Regions from separate parts of the Homo sapiens genome. Here region 2 is linked to region 1. The links are contacts of gene promoters, found by promoter capture Hi-C in blood cells and fetal thymus (Javierre and others, 2016). All regions are on one chromosome and are shown on one strand. The core of a region is centred on a gene start or on the middle of the fragment in contact, and the rest is flanking DNA. Distances in the headings are between cores, read along the strand shown. Region 1 holds the start of LINC00899 (long intergenic non-protein coding RNA 899). Region 2 overlaps TRMU (tRNA mitochondrial 2-thiouridylase).

The links. Contacts are between HindIII fragments. The CHiCAGO score rates a contact against its expected background, and 5 or more counts as called.
Region 2: a fragment that was not itself captured here is called in contact with the fragment with the promoter of LINC00899 in region 1 in 1 of 17 cell types (total CD4 T cells); the score reaches 5.1 in total CD4 T cells.

What each region holds. Positions count from the first base shown.
Region 1 is chr22:46,040,668-46,048,113 of GRCh38, forward strand. It overlaps LINC00899 (long intergenic non-protein coding RNA 899), which reads right to left and starts at 4,201. Exons shown (of 4, transcript NR_027036.1): 1 at 3,942-4,201; 2 at 2,896-3,032; 3 at 1,907-1,973; 4 at 1-385. It overlaps LOC124905135 (collagen alpha-1(III) chain-like), which reads left to right and starts at 3,977. Exons shown (of 2, transcript XM_047441696.1): 1 at 3,977-4,340. The HindIII fragment of the contact is 16,362 bases long and covers 3,966-7,446 here.
Region 2 is chr22:46,335,851-46,343,057 of GRCh38, forward strand. TRMU (tRNA mitochondrial 2-thiouridylase) reads left to right here. Exons shown (of 11, transcript NM_018006.5): 2 at 1,929-2,094. Among named protein-coding and RNA genes, the nearest start is that of TRMU, 3.7 kb to the left of the region's middle. RefSeq lists enhancers at 1-121, 1-453 and a silencer at 262-311. The HindIII fragment of the contact is 870 bases long and covers 1,251-2,120 here.

The DNA.
Region 1 (7,446 bases), core at 2,951-5,450:
GCGTGTGGCTAAGGGGAGTCGGGAAGAGCCCTGTCCCTGGACCAGACCTTCCTGTTGGGAGTACTGGGACCCAGTGACCTTGTGCACCTTTCCTGAAGCTTCTGGGCCCCAAGTGGTCGAATGCAGAGTGGGCTGGGGAGTCACAGACTGTGCTTCCTGCTTTCAACCTCCGTTCCAGGTTCCTGTGCGTTCCGTGGGCCCATCCACCTGGCTGGGCTTGGCTAGGCTGTGACCTTCTCTGAGGACAGGGCTCTGCCTGCATTTGGAGCTGCTGGGACCTCAGTGTCACCCCCCACTCTCGCCAGCTGGCCTCACAAAGGTGCCCAGGAGGAGACCTGATTGCCGACTCCTTTCCCCTCCCTGGCTGAGCAGATTCTACAACAGCCTGTGGAAATTAAAATAAGAGCTTAAAACTGTCAAAAAAATTTTTTTTAACCAAGTCACAAATGGGAAAGCTGAGGCGGCAGCAGGTTAAGGACACTTTGTGATGTAGCGTTCTCTCCCAGTGCTTTCGTACTGTAAACATCACAGTCCACGGTCCCTGTGAACAGGCAGCCACAGAGACTGGGTTTAGACTTGCCGGGGAAGGCTGCATCCAAAGTGGGGCCAGCTCAGAACTATTCCACCACATGGGGGGCCATTAGTTCTGCTCAGTTCTGTGGGGCCTCACTAGTGTTTCTATTTAAAAATAAGTCAAGGTAAAAGAAAAAGTTTCAAAATGTAACAGTCACGTATCTATTTCTGTAATTGTAAAGAAATACACTGTCATGTGACGGCTGGAGGCTCTGGAGCAGAGGGCCTAGGAGGAATTTTTTTTCTTTTTCTTTTTCTTTCCTGAATTCTCCAAACCGTCTATCACAGTGTGTATTGCTTTTATAACGGGAAGAGATAAAATAGACTTACATTAAAAATAATCAAACTGCACCTGTGCCTACATGTCAAATGATAAACGTGACAATCAAAGGCACTTTTTATTTATCGAATACCTGGTTCATGCCACATCTCCTGCTAGGCCCTCCCAGCGTGCTGGCTCCTCAGAACACCCTGCAGGTGGGAGCTGGGCACCAGGGTCCCTGAGGCAGCATTCAGCACCCACGTGGCAGAGCCAAGGCTGGACAGGGATGATTCCAACATCCAGGATTGTATTATGCTTATAACGACTTCCTGCCTGTTTGTATTTAAGACAAGGTCTCTCACTGCAGCTTTGACCTCCCGGGCTTGAGCAGTCTTCCCACCTCAGCCTCTGGAGTAGCTGGGAGTTACAGGTGCACACCCCCATGCTTGGCTAATTTTTGTATATTTTGCATAGACAGGGTTTCGCCGTGTTGCCCAGGCTGGTCTGGAATTCCTGGGCTCGTGCGATCCACCAGCCTCGGCCTCCCAAAGTGCTGGGATTACAGGCGTGAGCCACAACGCCCAGCCCCTGTCTCTTAAAGGTGAACATTTTCCCTAAATACAATGATCTTCAGTTAAAATATTTGTATCTTACATAGAATCTGGAATTATTTCTGTAAACAGAATTTAGTAAAAGAAATATAAAAATCAGCTGGGCACGTTGGCTCACGCCTGTAATCCCAGCACTTTGGGAGGCCGAGGTGGGCGGATCACAAGTTCAGGAGATCGAGACCACCACCCTGGCCAACATGGTGAAATCCCGTCTCTACTAAAAATACAAAAATTAGCTGGGCATGATGGTGCGCACCTGTAGTCCCAGCTACTCAGGAGGCTGAGGCAGGAGAATCGCTTGAACTCGGGAGGCGGAGGTTGCAGTGAGCCAAGATCGCACCACTGCGCCACTGCACTCCACCCTGGTGACAGAGCAAGACTGTGTCTCAAAAAAAAAAAAAAAAAAAAAAAGGAAAAAGAAAGAAAGAAAAAAAGAAATATAAAAATCATAGATTTTTACCTTATTTTACCTTATGACACTGTTGACCAACAGCCAAAGTCAGAATCAATTATGTAACTCTCAGAGCCTAGAACAAAATGAAAATATGGGTTCCCTTGTTCAAGAATGACTAAGAATTTTAAGACCGGGGACAGCCAAACATTGAGTGTGGGGCCCTTCTGCACACCGGCCCTCTACCACTGGGCAAGCCACACAGCCACAAAGTCAGCCCTGGACAAGTTATTGATAGTGTATGATAGAACTAAGGTGACGGTTCCCTTTGGGACACACTCTAATCACCAGTGACCACCAGTCAGAAAACAAATGGGCTCAAGCCGCAGGAAGATGAGCCGTTCCCAAGGCATTTTCCAATCCAAAAAATAGCGGTCGCAGCTCAGGAATGAAGTTCCCAGTGAGGATGCAGCGGGAGACACAGCCAGCCTTCCCTCCCCAGGAAAGGGCCAGGCCCTGCATAGGAGCTTTCATTAAAAACCAGGGAGGCTGCAGATTCTCTTGAAATGACAACACGCTCGTGCCACACCTCGATAGAGCTTCAGTCACTCTGCTGTGGAGCGTGCGAGGCTGACCATCCTAGGCCTTGGGGAGAAATCATGACAGCTGATGCCAGTGCTTGTTACTGGGAAAACACAGTAAGAAACTTCATCCCTAAATGTTTATACCTACTATGTACTCACAAAAATTTAAAAAAAGATTTAGTATGAAAATGTAAAGTATCTCATTAATCTTTATCTTGATCGTATGTTGAACTGATAATATTTTGGATATATTGGTTTAAATAAAATATATTAACTAAAAAAAAAAAAAAGGAAAACTTCATCCCGCCGCCTCTGAGAAAGGATCTTGGGGTTCATTGGCAGGTAAATGCTCCCCCAAAGGAGGTCCACTGTGGATGCTGGAAACGAACTGTCAGCTGACAAGCATCTGTAGCTCTGAAAACAAGGGCTCCACACATTGTCCCAGCCAGCGCCCCACCAGCCCATCCCCATTACCTCTATGTCTTCAGCCCCACGTCAGGTTCTGGAAGTTTCCAGGGGGAGTGGACAGTACCCTCAGGGGCTCTTGGGGCTGAGACCTCTTCCATGAATCACGTATGGAAGCCCAGGACCAACCTCAGAGAGGATCATGTCTGAGAAGTCGTTTGAGGGGAAAAATATCCACTTAAGAGAGAGGTTCTCCAGCCCTTTGGAGCATCACACACGTTTGTGGGACAAAAGACAAATATTCCTCCCACCCCAATCCCCAACCAGGCTCCTTGTTCATTTTTCTTTAAAAAACAACAACAAAAAAAAAATCCGCATTCTCCCCAGCCTGAAATAGTGCTCTGGAGGAGCTGGCCTGGCCCGGAGTGTCTTCTCCGTAAACACACCTGGTGAGGAAGAACAGGAAGGACGGACAAAGGGAGGCCTCAGGCCCAGCTGGCAGCCAGATCTGTGCCTCCCAGCGCCTCCAGGGCCCTTGCAGTCTCGAGAGATGTGGCTTGGCCACTTTTGCAGATTCCCAGGCCTGGGGCCACTCAGTTGCCTCCCCCAGCCCAGGTGTCTCCTCGGGACCCTTGCCTGGGAGGGTTTGAAGCCAGGCAGGGAAAAGAGGGCAGAAAATGGTGGTGCCGGGGAGCTGGGCCGGGCCAGCAAATCATTCCGCAAGGTGGAGAACTGCAGGCTGAGGGCACCGTGGGCCTGGGCCCGGGACCCAGCATGGAACCCCTTCTCCTGGAGCACCAGGGGTCACAACAGTCCCTCCACTCCAGGGATCACGGGTGACCCACGGCCGGGTGCTTTGGGGACGAGACAAAGACAGCGTGTTCCTCAAGCCCCTGCCTACCGCTCCGTCACTGGGGCCATGGTCTGCGTGCCAACAACCTTTTAGGAAGCATCTTGTGCCCAACCTCACCACCCCGCAAAAAAACCTGTGTCCAAAACACTTGGCAGTGGGGCTTAAAACGCTCAGGTGCCCCGAGGAGGCGCCGGGAGATGAGCCCAGAGCGGTGGCTGGCGAAGGCCCCAGCAGGACTGGGGCGTGGAACTTGCTTGTTTACCTAAGAGAAAAACACGACGAAAAAAGCTTCTGGGTAGAATTGGAAGTTCTGGGGCTCTCGGCGCCGCGGCCTCCGCGCGGTTCTCTTCCTCCCCTCCCCGGCCTGCTTTTCCTCCTTCTTTCCCTCTTTGTTGCCAACCTCGGAGCCGCGACTGAAACCCAGCCCAGCGTGTCCGCGAAGCCCGGAAACTTCCAGCTCCGCGACTGTGCAGAAAGTTGGGGGGCGCGGCCGGGGTGACAGCAGCGCTTCGGGGGCGGCCGCGGCGGCCACCCGGACCTCGGCCTCCCGCGCCTCCCGCTGCCCCAGCCGCGCCCGGGGACCTCGGGCAGCCCGCGGGCCGGACGTGAACTTGACCCTGCGCTGTGCCCGCCTGGACCGCGGCGCGCTCGGGACGATCTGGTAAGCGCTCCCCCTCCCGCCCTCGCCCGGCGGCGCTGGGGTCCGGGTCGGGGTCCGGGCTCGACTGCGAGGGCGTGTCCCGGGGTGGCGGGCGCCGGGGCTCCTCGGCCGCTGCACCGGAGCGCACGGCCGAGCCCGCGGCCCGGCCCCCGGCGAAGTCAGCCCCCAGCCTCCCAAACAAAGACTCGCAAAGTTCGGAAGAGAATCTTTCCCGACATTTTCCCTCCCCTCGGGCTCTGCGCTGCGGCCATCAGGGCTCTTAAAAGAGAACCGAGAGCTCTCTGGTTTTCTCCTGGTGTTTTCTTCCCTGCGCTTTGCCCCCCACCTTTGGCTGGAGGGAAGGAGGAGGGGGCATGGATGCCCCTCGGGCCCTCAGGTGTTGACCCTCCGAGGCCAGGCTGCCCAGGGGCAGCACAGGAGGTGAGGGCCTGTGGGATGAGGGACCCCCGACAGCACAAGGAGGCAAGCCCCTCGCCGCTGCAATGCTCCGGTCCTGGGGCTCAGGTGGAAGTTGCTCCTGATCCCCCCACACCCCCAGCACCATCCTGAGTGACTTCCCTTGACCGTCCTGGGTGACCATCCTGAGCAAGACTCCCTGGCCACCAACTGTCCTGTCGGCTCTGCTTGGGGCAACCACAGTGCCAAGTGAGCCTGGCAGGTGCTGGGTCACAGGACAGCCATGGACAGGGCCTGGGGAGGAGGAGAAGCTGGGGCCCTGTAGAGCCTGTTCCTTGGGGAGCAGGTGAGGGACCCTGCTGCCTCCCCTATTCCTGTCTGCAACAGGCCCAGCCCATACCTCCAGCTAGCTTCTCTGCATGCCACTCTCTCCGCCTGAGACAAGGCCTCTGTCCCTGTGACTGGTCTGATCCCTGGGGGGCACTCCTGGGATAGAAACCTACCCCACCAGTCGGCGGTGGCAAAGCCCTGGAAACTCACAGACCTGTCCTGGGCCTGGGCCTCCACAAGCCTCCCAGTTTGATCAGGTGCCCCCAACCACAGCAGGGACCATCTGTCAGGTCTTACTCCCAGTGGTGGCCAGGTCCCCAGCCTTCCAGAGAGCATTGCTAACTTGCCTCCATCCCTGGGTGCCTACGCTCCCAAAGTCCTCCTCAGGGGAGCACCCAAGCCGAGAGGGCTGGCCAGCCAGAATCTGAGTGGGTCACCCCACCATGTCCCTGGACTCTCTGGCAGGGCTGTCACAGGGCAGCCTACAGGCGTCAGTTGGAGCACAGAGGGTGTTTGCAGTGACGGCAGGGGACAGAGTGCCCAGTTGGCTCTAGCCTGTTGCTGCCATGAGGATAAGGGCTGAGGCTGTTAGAGCTTCTGACTTCAGAAGAAATCCAGATTTGTACATGAAATGTCCAAAATTTGAGCACATTGCAGGACAGAGGAAACACTCTGGGGTTGAACCCAACCCATGCCCCCACCCCGAGACTGCAACTCCTGTGTACGCCTGAACTGGTTAGTGTTCAAAGAAAGCAGATTTCTTAGTGACCCTGGCCCCAGCCCAAGATTTGAGCAGGAGACCCCGGGGATCTGGGGAGCAGGGAGGCAGGAGAGTCTGTATCTCATGGACCCAGCACCACAGGGAGGGTCGGCCTCCACAGGCATGAACTGTCCAGGTAATTAACACTTGCTCGAGCCCACTTAAAGTTAAAATCTCCCTAAAATGAGGAACCTGACCTGCCCCATCCCCAAACCCTCTGGGGGACCTTCTATACCCGCCCAGGGTATAATGAAGGAAAGATAGGATGCAGAAAGTGAACCTGAACTTGAACTTTCTTCATGTCCCAGGCAGTAGAGTCGCAGCATACCAAAAATCCTGGGCTTATAGGGAAGTTCTGCATTGAGGCAGGCCTGCCTCCACCTGCCAGCGCTACCTCATTCTAGCTGGGTAACCTCACCTCTCTGGGCCTCAGTTTCCTCACTCATAAAAGGGGCTTAATAAGAGTTCTGCCAGACAGGTGTGGTAGCTCACACCTGTAATCCCAGCACTTTGCGAGGCCGAGGCAGACAGATCATGAGGTCAGGAGTTCCAGACCAGCCTGGCCAACACGATGAAACCCTGTCTCTACTAAAAATACAAAAATTAGCTAGGTGTGGTGGCACACAGCTGTAGTCCCAGCTACTCAGGAGGCTGAGGCAGGAGAATTGCTTGAACCCGGGAGGCGGAGGTTGCAGTAAGCCGAGATTGCGCCACTGCACTCCAGCCTGGGTGACAGAGCGAGACTCTGTCTCAAAAAAACAAACAAACAAACAAACAAACAAAACAAACAAAAAGAGTTCTGTATCAGTTGCGTTGTTGGGAGAACGGTGACAATCGCTGTGAACATCGATCACTCCGCTAGCACACGGCAGGCACTCAGTATCAGCGGCTGCTGCTCCAGGGGCCCGTGGCTGCTGGCTTCTCTCGCACATCACCTGCTTCTGGGCAGCTCAGGAATTTCTCTCCTACATCTCATGTCAACTTTGCATCGCTTACCTCACCACCTTCTGGCACTTGTTTCCGTACCCTAAAGGAAACAGTCACTGAACACCTCCCCCACACCTATACTCCTGTATGGAGTACTGGGCACAGAGAGAAAAGACGACAAGGTCCTGCCTTAGAAGCTGCCAGATACCCTGTGCAGTGACACCCTCAGGTGAGCTTCTCTAGGCTAATGCCAGAGAAGGTGTTTCCTGTGCAGCCTTTGTTGAATGCCTCCAGAGACAGGCAGCTCACCACCTATCTGGCAGTGTGGCTGCAGAAGCCGTAGGACAGAGTCACCCAGGCATCCTTGAGCCTTAACTGGTAGAAAGAGATGTAGGACAGGTCCATAGGCAGTGCCCCTGAGTCAGAGGCACCTGGTTTTACTGGAGAAAACACATACCTCATAAGAAACTTCTGAAAATTTGGTGAGGTGTACAGAAAGATTTCAGTCTCCAGAAAAAGCACTGCAAATGCTCACGCATGTTTTTACAGAACAGAGCCCTGTTTCCTCTTTTTGCCAACAGCCCATTTAGCAATGCCAGGGCTGTGCCAGTGACCCCACCCACCTCCTAACAAGGCAGCCACTGTCCCGGGGGACAGCCAATATATGCTTTGATTTTTTGAGGTTAATGTCCT
Region 2 (7,207 bases), core at 436-2,935, 290 kb after region 1:
GGCGTCCGAGGCTCCCGCCCCCCGCCGAGCGAATGTGTCCCCGGAAACCTGTCCCCGTCCGTCGTGGCGTTGTGCACGTCTCCTCCCTCCCTGGGCCGCTGGTTGCGCGCGGGTCGGCAGGAGGATACCCCGTCCTCTGACTTTGGTTCGGAGGCTCCTCGCCCTCCACCTGTGTAGTCGGAGGTGTGCGCGACTGCAGCTCCGACTACCTGGGAGCAGTTCCGCGCCCCTCTCCACCCACGCGCGCCCACCCACAGTGAGAAGCCGGCGGGCCGGGGTGGGGTGGGGAGGGAAGGGTTTCTCACGGATCTGCGGCGTCCACATTCACCTGTGAGACCGTGGACACTGGTGAGGGGAGCTGGGATCGCCGGGCCGGGGGCCTGACCTCTGCACACGCTGTGGCCGCCCGGTGGGAGGTCCTTGTCCTCCCCACTCAGCAGACTGGACAACTGCCGCGCGGCGGGTCTGCTTGTTCAGCGTCTCCTGTGTTCTCCGCTCGCTGGAGGACAAAGTTTTCTCCAGGAGCATTTGCATTTCTTCCGGCATCTAAACGGAGCCCCACGGGTGCTTAGCATTCCTCGGGCCCGGCGCTGAAATGAGCACTTGTTTAACTTCACCTGTGTGGCTCCCCGCGGGAGGCCTCATTCACAGAGTCACGTTTGTGGAGCTCTGCTTTGCGCCATCTTTGGCTCCTGACCTTGGGCAAGTGAATTAAGCCGTCCCCTGTAAAATTCGGCTAACACCTGCCTCACGGGGTGACTGGAGGGATTAGATGACATAGTACATACTGATGAGTACGTGCTCAGCACATACGAGGTACGCAGAAAACAGTAGTGGCTATTAGTTTATATTGTTAATAACCATAGCTATTATGGTAGGTACAGTAAGTGCCAAAGAGAAGGGTAGGCGGACCATAAGCAGAAATAGTTGTGAGGAAGGGAGAGTGGAGGAAAGCATCCTAGAGATGGAGGTGCTCAGCTGAGTCGAAAGAAGAGTAGGATGTCACTAAGCAGAGACTTGGAGGTGGAGGCGGCCCTCCCGGCACAGTCAGCAGTGCAAGCAGAATCACAGAGGCCTGCAAGTGTGGGCTGGTTCTGGCCAGATGGAGATGGAAGGAGAGGAGCCTGGAGCACGTTTAGCCCTGATTATGGAAGATGCTATACCAGGGGCTTTAGACTGTTAGGTAGACATTAGTCTGGTTGATCTGGGATAGGGGTGGTCTTTCGCGTGTGGTGGTGTAGTTTTGACAAAGCTTTGTCATCAAATTTCTGTTGTTTTGGGTACTATATGAAGCCTTCTTCAGCAGTCATTTGCCCTGTCTTTCATTACATTCAGCCTACCTAAACGAACCAGCTTTCTCATACAGGGTCTGCACCTGTGTAGTTTGCTAAGGTGGTGTAGGGCTAAAGTTGGCCTTTCCAATATTTGGGTGAATATTTTGTTACAATCGAAAAGGTAGAAAATAGGTCATAAACTAGGTGGTACAGCTCTTACAAAATATCGAAAATTTTAATTATCTTTATATCTGATCACTTAGAATCTAAGTCTTAGATAGTAACTAGAAATAACTTTTGAAAAGAGTTTCCTTTTTTGATAACTGAATGGTGCTTTGAAAAATTTTGTTGAGTTTCGACTATTCCTTCGTGTATTCCACACACACTGGCTGATCCCCTCCTGCTAGGTATTGTGCTGATACATAGATGGGGACACAAAGATGAGAAAATACCACCTCGTTAATCTTGGGGACTCAGGCACCAAGATGGAAACCGGATCCCTGAAGCCACATGGCAAAGCAGGGACTGCCCGGCAGGCCAGGCACAGAGGCACAGGAGCACAGCGTGTGGGGAACTTCTCAGAGCTCAGAAATCACTGCCGTTTTACCGAAGGTTGATTTATGTATTCTCTTTAATTGACCTTCCCGCCCGCAGGTTACCAGGTGACAGGGGTGTTTATGAAGAACTGGGACTCACTGGATGAACATGGGGTCTGTACTGCCGACAAAGACTGTGAAGATGCTTACAGAGTTTGCCAGATCTTAGACATCCCTTTCCATCAAGTGTCCTACGTAAAGGAGTATTGGAATGATGTGTTCAGGTGAGTGCGGGTCACAGCACAAAGGAAGCTTCCTCACACTGTGGATCCTTGCAGTGGAAGGATCCGGTAACCAGCCAGACCGACGCCTGTGCTGCAGCCCAGCGCTCTCCCTCCACGGTGGTGCTGAAGACTGCAAGAGGCCTCAGCCACCCTCGGGGCTCTGTGTTAGAGGCGAGGCCTGGACCCCACAGCACACCCAGCTCTCTCACTCCTGTCATTTTGCCACTTGCCTGAAGTCTCTTTAATGCTTTCTTGGACCTTGAGCTGTTTCTGTTGCCCAGTTAGGATAGGGGAGCTAAGGCTGAGGGCTCCCCTGGAAGGTGAGCACCAATGCCTGTGTGCTATGTGGGTCAGCGATTAGGGGATTTCTGAGAAAGAGGTGATACATGGCCTGTGCCTCTGAAAACAAGAAACAAACAAAAACTTTTCTAAAATCCAATATAATCTCAATAATTAAGTGCTGTGTGCTAGGCGTGTGCCACATCTAGGAACATTAAGATGTCTTCACTGTGACCTGGCTCTGTAGGAGTTTGCGGTCTAGTTGGGAGGACATTATCTTCACAAGAGGTGACAGTGATGCGTGGCACGCAGGAAGTACCAGTGATGCTATCAGTCACTGAACCCAGAGGAGGGAGAAACTTGCAGTGTGGAGTAATCAAGAAGGCTTCACCGGAGAGGAGGGGTTGCAAACAAAGTTGTAGAGAAGGGACTCCAAATGGGGTAACGAGAGCAGCGTGAAGGGGAGAAGAAATGCTGATTGTGTATTTCAGGACCGTTGTAAAGTTTGGCTGGACTTTTGTTCCTGCAGTGGAAGGAGTGTAGGGCTCATCCTCTGGTGAGCCCTGACTGTGATGAATGTCGGGCAGTTGTCGAAGGCGTCTGACACAGCAGGCCATGTGCGCGGGACAGGCTGCCCCTGCCTGAGTGGGCTTTAGGGGCAGAAGAGCCTTGGGTTGAGTCCTGACTGTAGCTTATTATATGACCTTGGGCAATTTACTTGACTTTGTTTTTTTAATTGAAAAAAATTCTCTTTTTTTCCTGCCAACAAAGACCCAGAAGAGATACTTGACTTTTCTAAGCCCCAATTTTCTCATCTTTAAAATGAGGATAACACTGATGCCTCACAGGGTTATGAAAGAATTGAGATTAGGTTCTAGTATGTATGCCTGGTATATTAGTAAGCAGTCAATAAACATAGCTGTTTTTCTTTTCTATTTTTTTTTGAGACAGAGCCTCGCTCTGTTGCCCAGGCTGGAGTGCAGTGGCGCAATCTTGGCTCACTGCAACATCTGCCTCCCAGGTTCAAGCGATTCTCATGCCTCAGCCTCCCAAGTAGCTGGGATTATAGGCATGCACCACCACGCCCGGATAATTTTTGTATTTTTAGTAGAGACAGGGTTTCGCCATGTTGGCCGGGCTAGTCTCAGACTCCTGACCTCAGAAGATCCACTCGTCTCAGCCTCCCAAAGTGCTGGGATTACAGGCGTGAGCCACCACGCCAGCCTGCTATTTTTATTTTCATTATTAAAAAGATGAGTCTGGGGAGCTAAGCTATGAGGACGCAAAGGCATAAAAATGATATAATGGACTCTGGGGTGAGGGATAAAAGACTACACATCGGGTACAATGTCCACTGCTTGGGTGACGGGTACACCAAAATCTCAGAAGTCACCACTGAAGAACTTATCCATGTGACCAAATACCAGCTGTTGCCCAAAAAACCATTGAAATAACAATAAAACGAAATTTAGAGAGATTAAGTAAATTGACTATGGTCACCTAAATAATCAACGGAAGAGCTTGAATATGAACCCTCTGTGACTCTATGCTATAACATATGGGTGTCGTATATATTAACAACATGGACAAAACTGATGGCTGAATTTTCCTGGGGAAAGTTACCTGTAGAATGCATGATAAATGCATTAAAAACTTATCTGTAGAATGCATGATAAATGCATTAAAAACTTCTGCAGTTTTCTCGGGGACATAAGAAAAAAAAAAGAGTGTGGCGGCCAAATACAGGATAAATCTGGGGGAAGACCAAAGGCAGAGAGTCTCAGGAAGTGCTGTTGCTGGAGATTTGGACTTCATGGGGAGGGAGTGTGGGAGTGGAAGGTGAGGGCTGGCTTGTTGGACCCAGAGGACAAGTCCACCGGGCAGTAGATCTGAGGTGCTTGTTAAACACAGACCTGGACCGAGGTCTGGGGGCGGCCCTGGAATCTGCTTTAATAAGCACTTCAGCTGTGCTGGTGGTGTGGGGGGTTGTCAGGGTCTTTCTTTGAGAAAAGGTGTGATGCGGCTTAGGGACTGATGTGTGTGGGAGACCAGAGAGGAGAGGAGTCAGCAGTAGTTTCAAGATCAAGGCTGGGTGGCTGGGGAAAGCTGGTTTAGGGGATTCCTCATGAGTACTGTAGAGTTTGAGGGGACAACAGGGAATCCAAGTGAGCTTACACTTCACCTGCCAGCACAGCTTTTTCAGAACGTACGAGTGGATGCGATTTTTGAAGTTTAGCTCAGCTGAGGCCAGATAGGAAGAGTGACTTGAATAGTATGGCAAATTAGGAGCGGAGCTGGGATTAAACCCCAGAATTAGGAGCGGAGCTGGGATTAAAACCCAGAATTAGGAGCGGAGCTGGGATTAAACCCCAGAATTAGGAGCGGAGCTGGGATTAAACCCCAGAATTAGGAGCGGAGCTGGGATTAAACCCCAGAATTAGGAGCGGAGCTGGGATTAAACCCCAGAATTAGGAGCGGAGCTGGGATTAAACCCCAGAATTAGGAGCGGAGCTGGGATTAAACCCCAGAATTAGGAGCGGAGCTGGGATTAAAACCCAGCTTTCCAGGCCAGTGCTTGCTGCCGCCTTCTGGCGCTGCTTGATAGGGACTGAGAGAAGGAGGCGGCCGGGTAGAGTCTTTTCCCATCTCTGGGGCTGCCCCCGAGGTCGCCCCTGGCTCCAGCCAGCCTGCCCTCTGCCCTCGCCCAGTACCAGCTGCCCGTGGAGGCATTGGTCTTTCCGCTGAAGACTCACTTCTCTAGTAGGGCTCTCTAGCTCAGAGATTTCTTTTGCATTCTTTCATTCAAGACCCACTGGCCTTCAAGGATCAGAGTCCAGATACGTTTTAGCTGCTGAGTCTTTTAAATCTGTCTCCCTCCCGAGGCACATGAAAGGCTTCTCTTCTTTCCAGTTAGAGAAGAGGCTGGGCTACTCCATTGTTTTTGCTAATGCCAAAACACACGCCTTCCCATCTGCTGTTTACGAAAGGGTTAACAGTGTGTCTTTTCAGAAACTGATTTTAATGTTCAGCCTCTTCAACATTTATTGATGACTGTGATATAGAAAGTTTGTTGGGTCTAGGACACAGACACAGATTGCACCTTAAGTAGTTTATAGTTTAATGAGCTTCCTGGTAACTTTCTAATAATTAAAGCAAAATGGAAAGAGTGTAATAATATCAAGTGTTGTTGCAAATGTGGAAAAACATGAGTTTTTATGAACTTCTAGGGGGACTGAGAAGTAGGAAAACAGTTTGGTGCCTGCTAAAGTGGAAGATATCCAAGGAACCTCTGACCCTGTGCAGATCTGTGATATGTCTGCAAAACACAAACCTCTTGATCAGCACTGGTTTTTTTTTTAACCCTTGTTGATTAATAGAGAGTTTTAGGTTAAATGAAAAAAATCACTTATACCAAAAATACACCCATTTTTAAACTCCCAAAATAGGCATCATAACCCTCTTGAAGTGAATCCTCGAAGACTATGAAATTCTTGGTAAGTTTTGCTGGTATCATGGCATCTTTTTCCCATGTTCAGTCAGTCTGTTAGAGCAGAAGTTCACTGAATTAGGATAGCCTGATCCACTTTAAGCACCCAAGAGTTTGCTAGTTCTCAGAAGTGTGTGTTTGTCACCTGAGGATAGTATTTTTGGTATATTTGCCCAGTGACGCAGCATTCCAGGCTGAGATTGCAGAATGGCTCATGGAGCCCTTGTGTAGGGAAGCCTCTGACTGTGTTTCTCCTCTGTTCTCATCACGGCAGTCATCCTCACGGAAGAAGGCTTCTGTGACAAAGGTGTGGGGGGTTTTCCCCATACAGCAAGCAGTGGACACCGACTGGGTGTCCTCTGATTCAGTTCCGATACCATCTACTTGGAGATAGTGCTGGATCCCAAAGGTTGGGGGTTCAGTCCCCCAGACGGACTCCCCCCACAACAGCAGTCGAAAGTATGGGCCTCTAGAACTTATGACCAACTGGCTTCCAGTTGGGATTCCCATAACTTCCTCTTTGGGTTCAATTATTAATAATTTGCTGGAGTGGTTCACAGAACTCAGAAAAACACATTTACCAGTTTATTATAAAGGATGTTGCAAAGGATACAGATGAAGAGACGGGTTGGGTGAGGTATGGGGAAAGGGTCATGGAGTGTCCACACCCTCCCTGGGGACCACCCTCCAGGAGCCTCCACAAGTGTAGCTGTGCAGAAGCTCTCTGAACCCAGTACTCCTGGGTTTTTATGGAGGCTTCATGACATCGCCATTCCTTCCCCCAGGATATACAGTGGGACTGTGTCTGGGGAGGGTCTTAAGACCCACAGTCAGAAAGGTAGACGCTTGTAATCCTAGCACTTTAGGAGGCTGAGGCAGGAGACTTGCTTGAGGCCTGGAGTTCAGTATCAGCATGGGCAACATGGCAAGACCTCATCTCTATAAAAAAAGAAAAGGTTGCAGTGGGCCAGGTGCGGTGGCTCACGCCTCTAATTCCAGCATTTTGGGAGGCTGAGGCGGGCAGATCACTTGAGGCCAGGAGTTGGAGACCAGCCTGGCCAACATGGTGAAACCCCGTCTCTACTAAAAATACAAAAATTATCTGGGCATGGTGCTGCGCACCTGTAATCACAGCTATTCGGAAGGCTGAGGTGGGAGAATCTGCAAGGGAAGTCTAAAGGATTTCATTTCCACTGTCACTCAGGCATCTTCTCTTCCTCACCTAAGCCCTGCTGTGTTGGAGGAGTCCCAGAGGCAGGGTTTTAGTGAGACCCTCACGGCCACTCCCCACTCCTGACCCCATAAGCCCTGTGAGCCTACACAGAGACGGTGGCTCCTGAGCCGTAG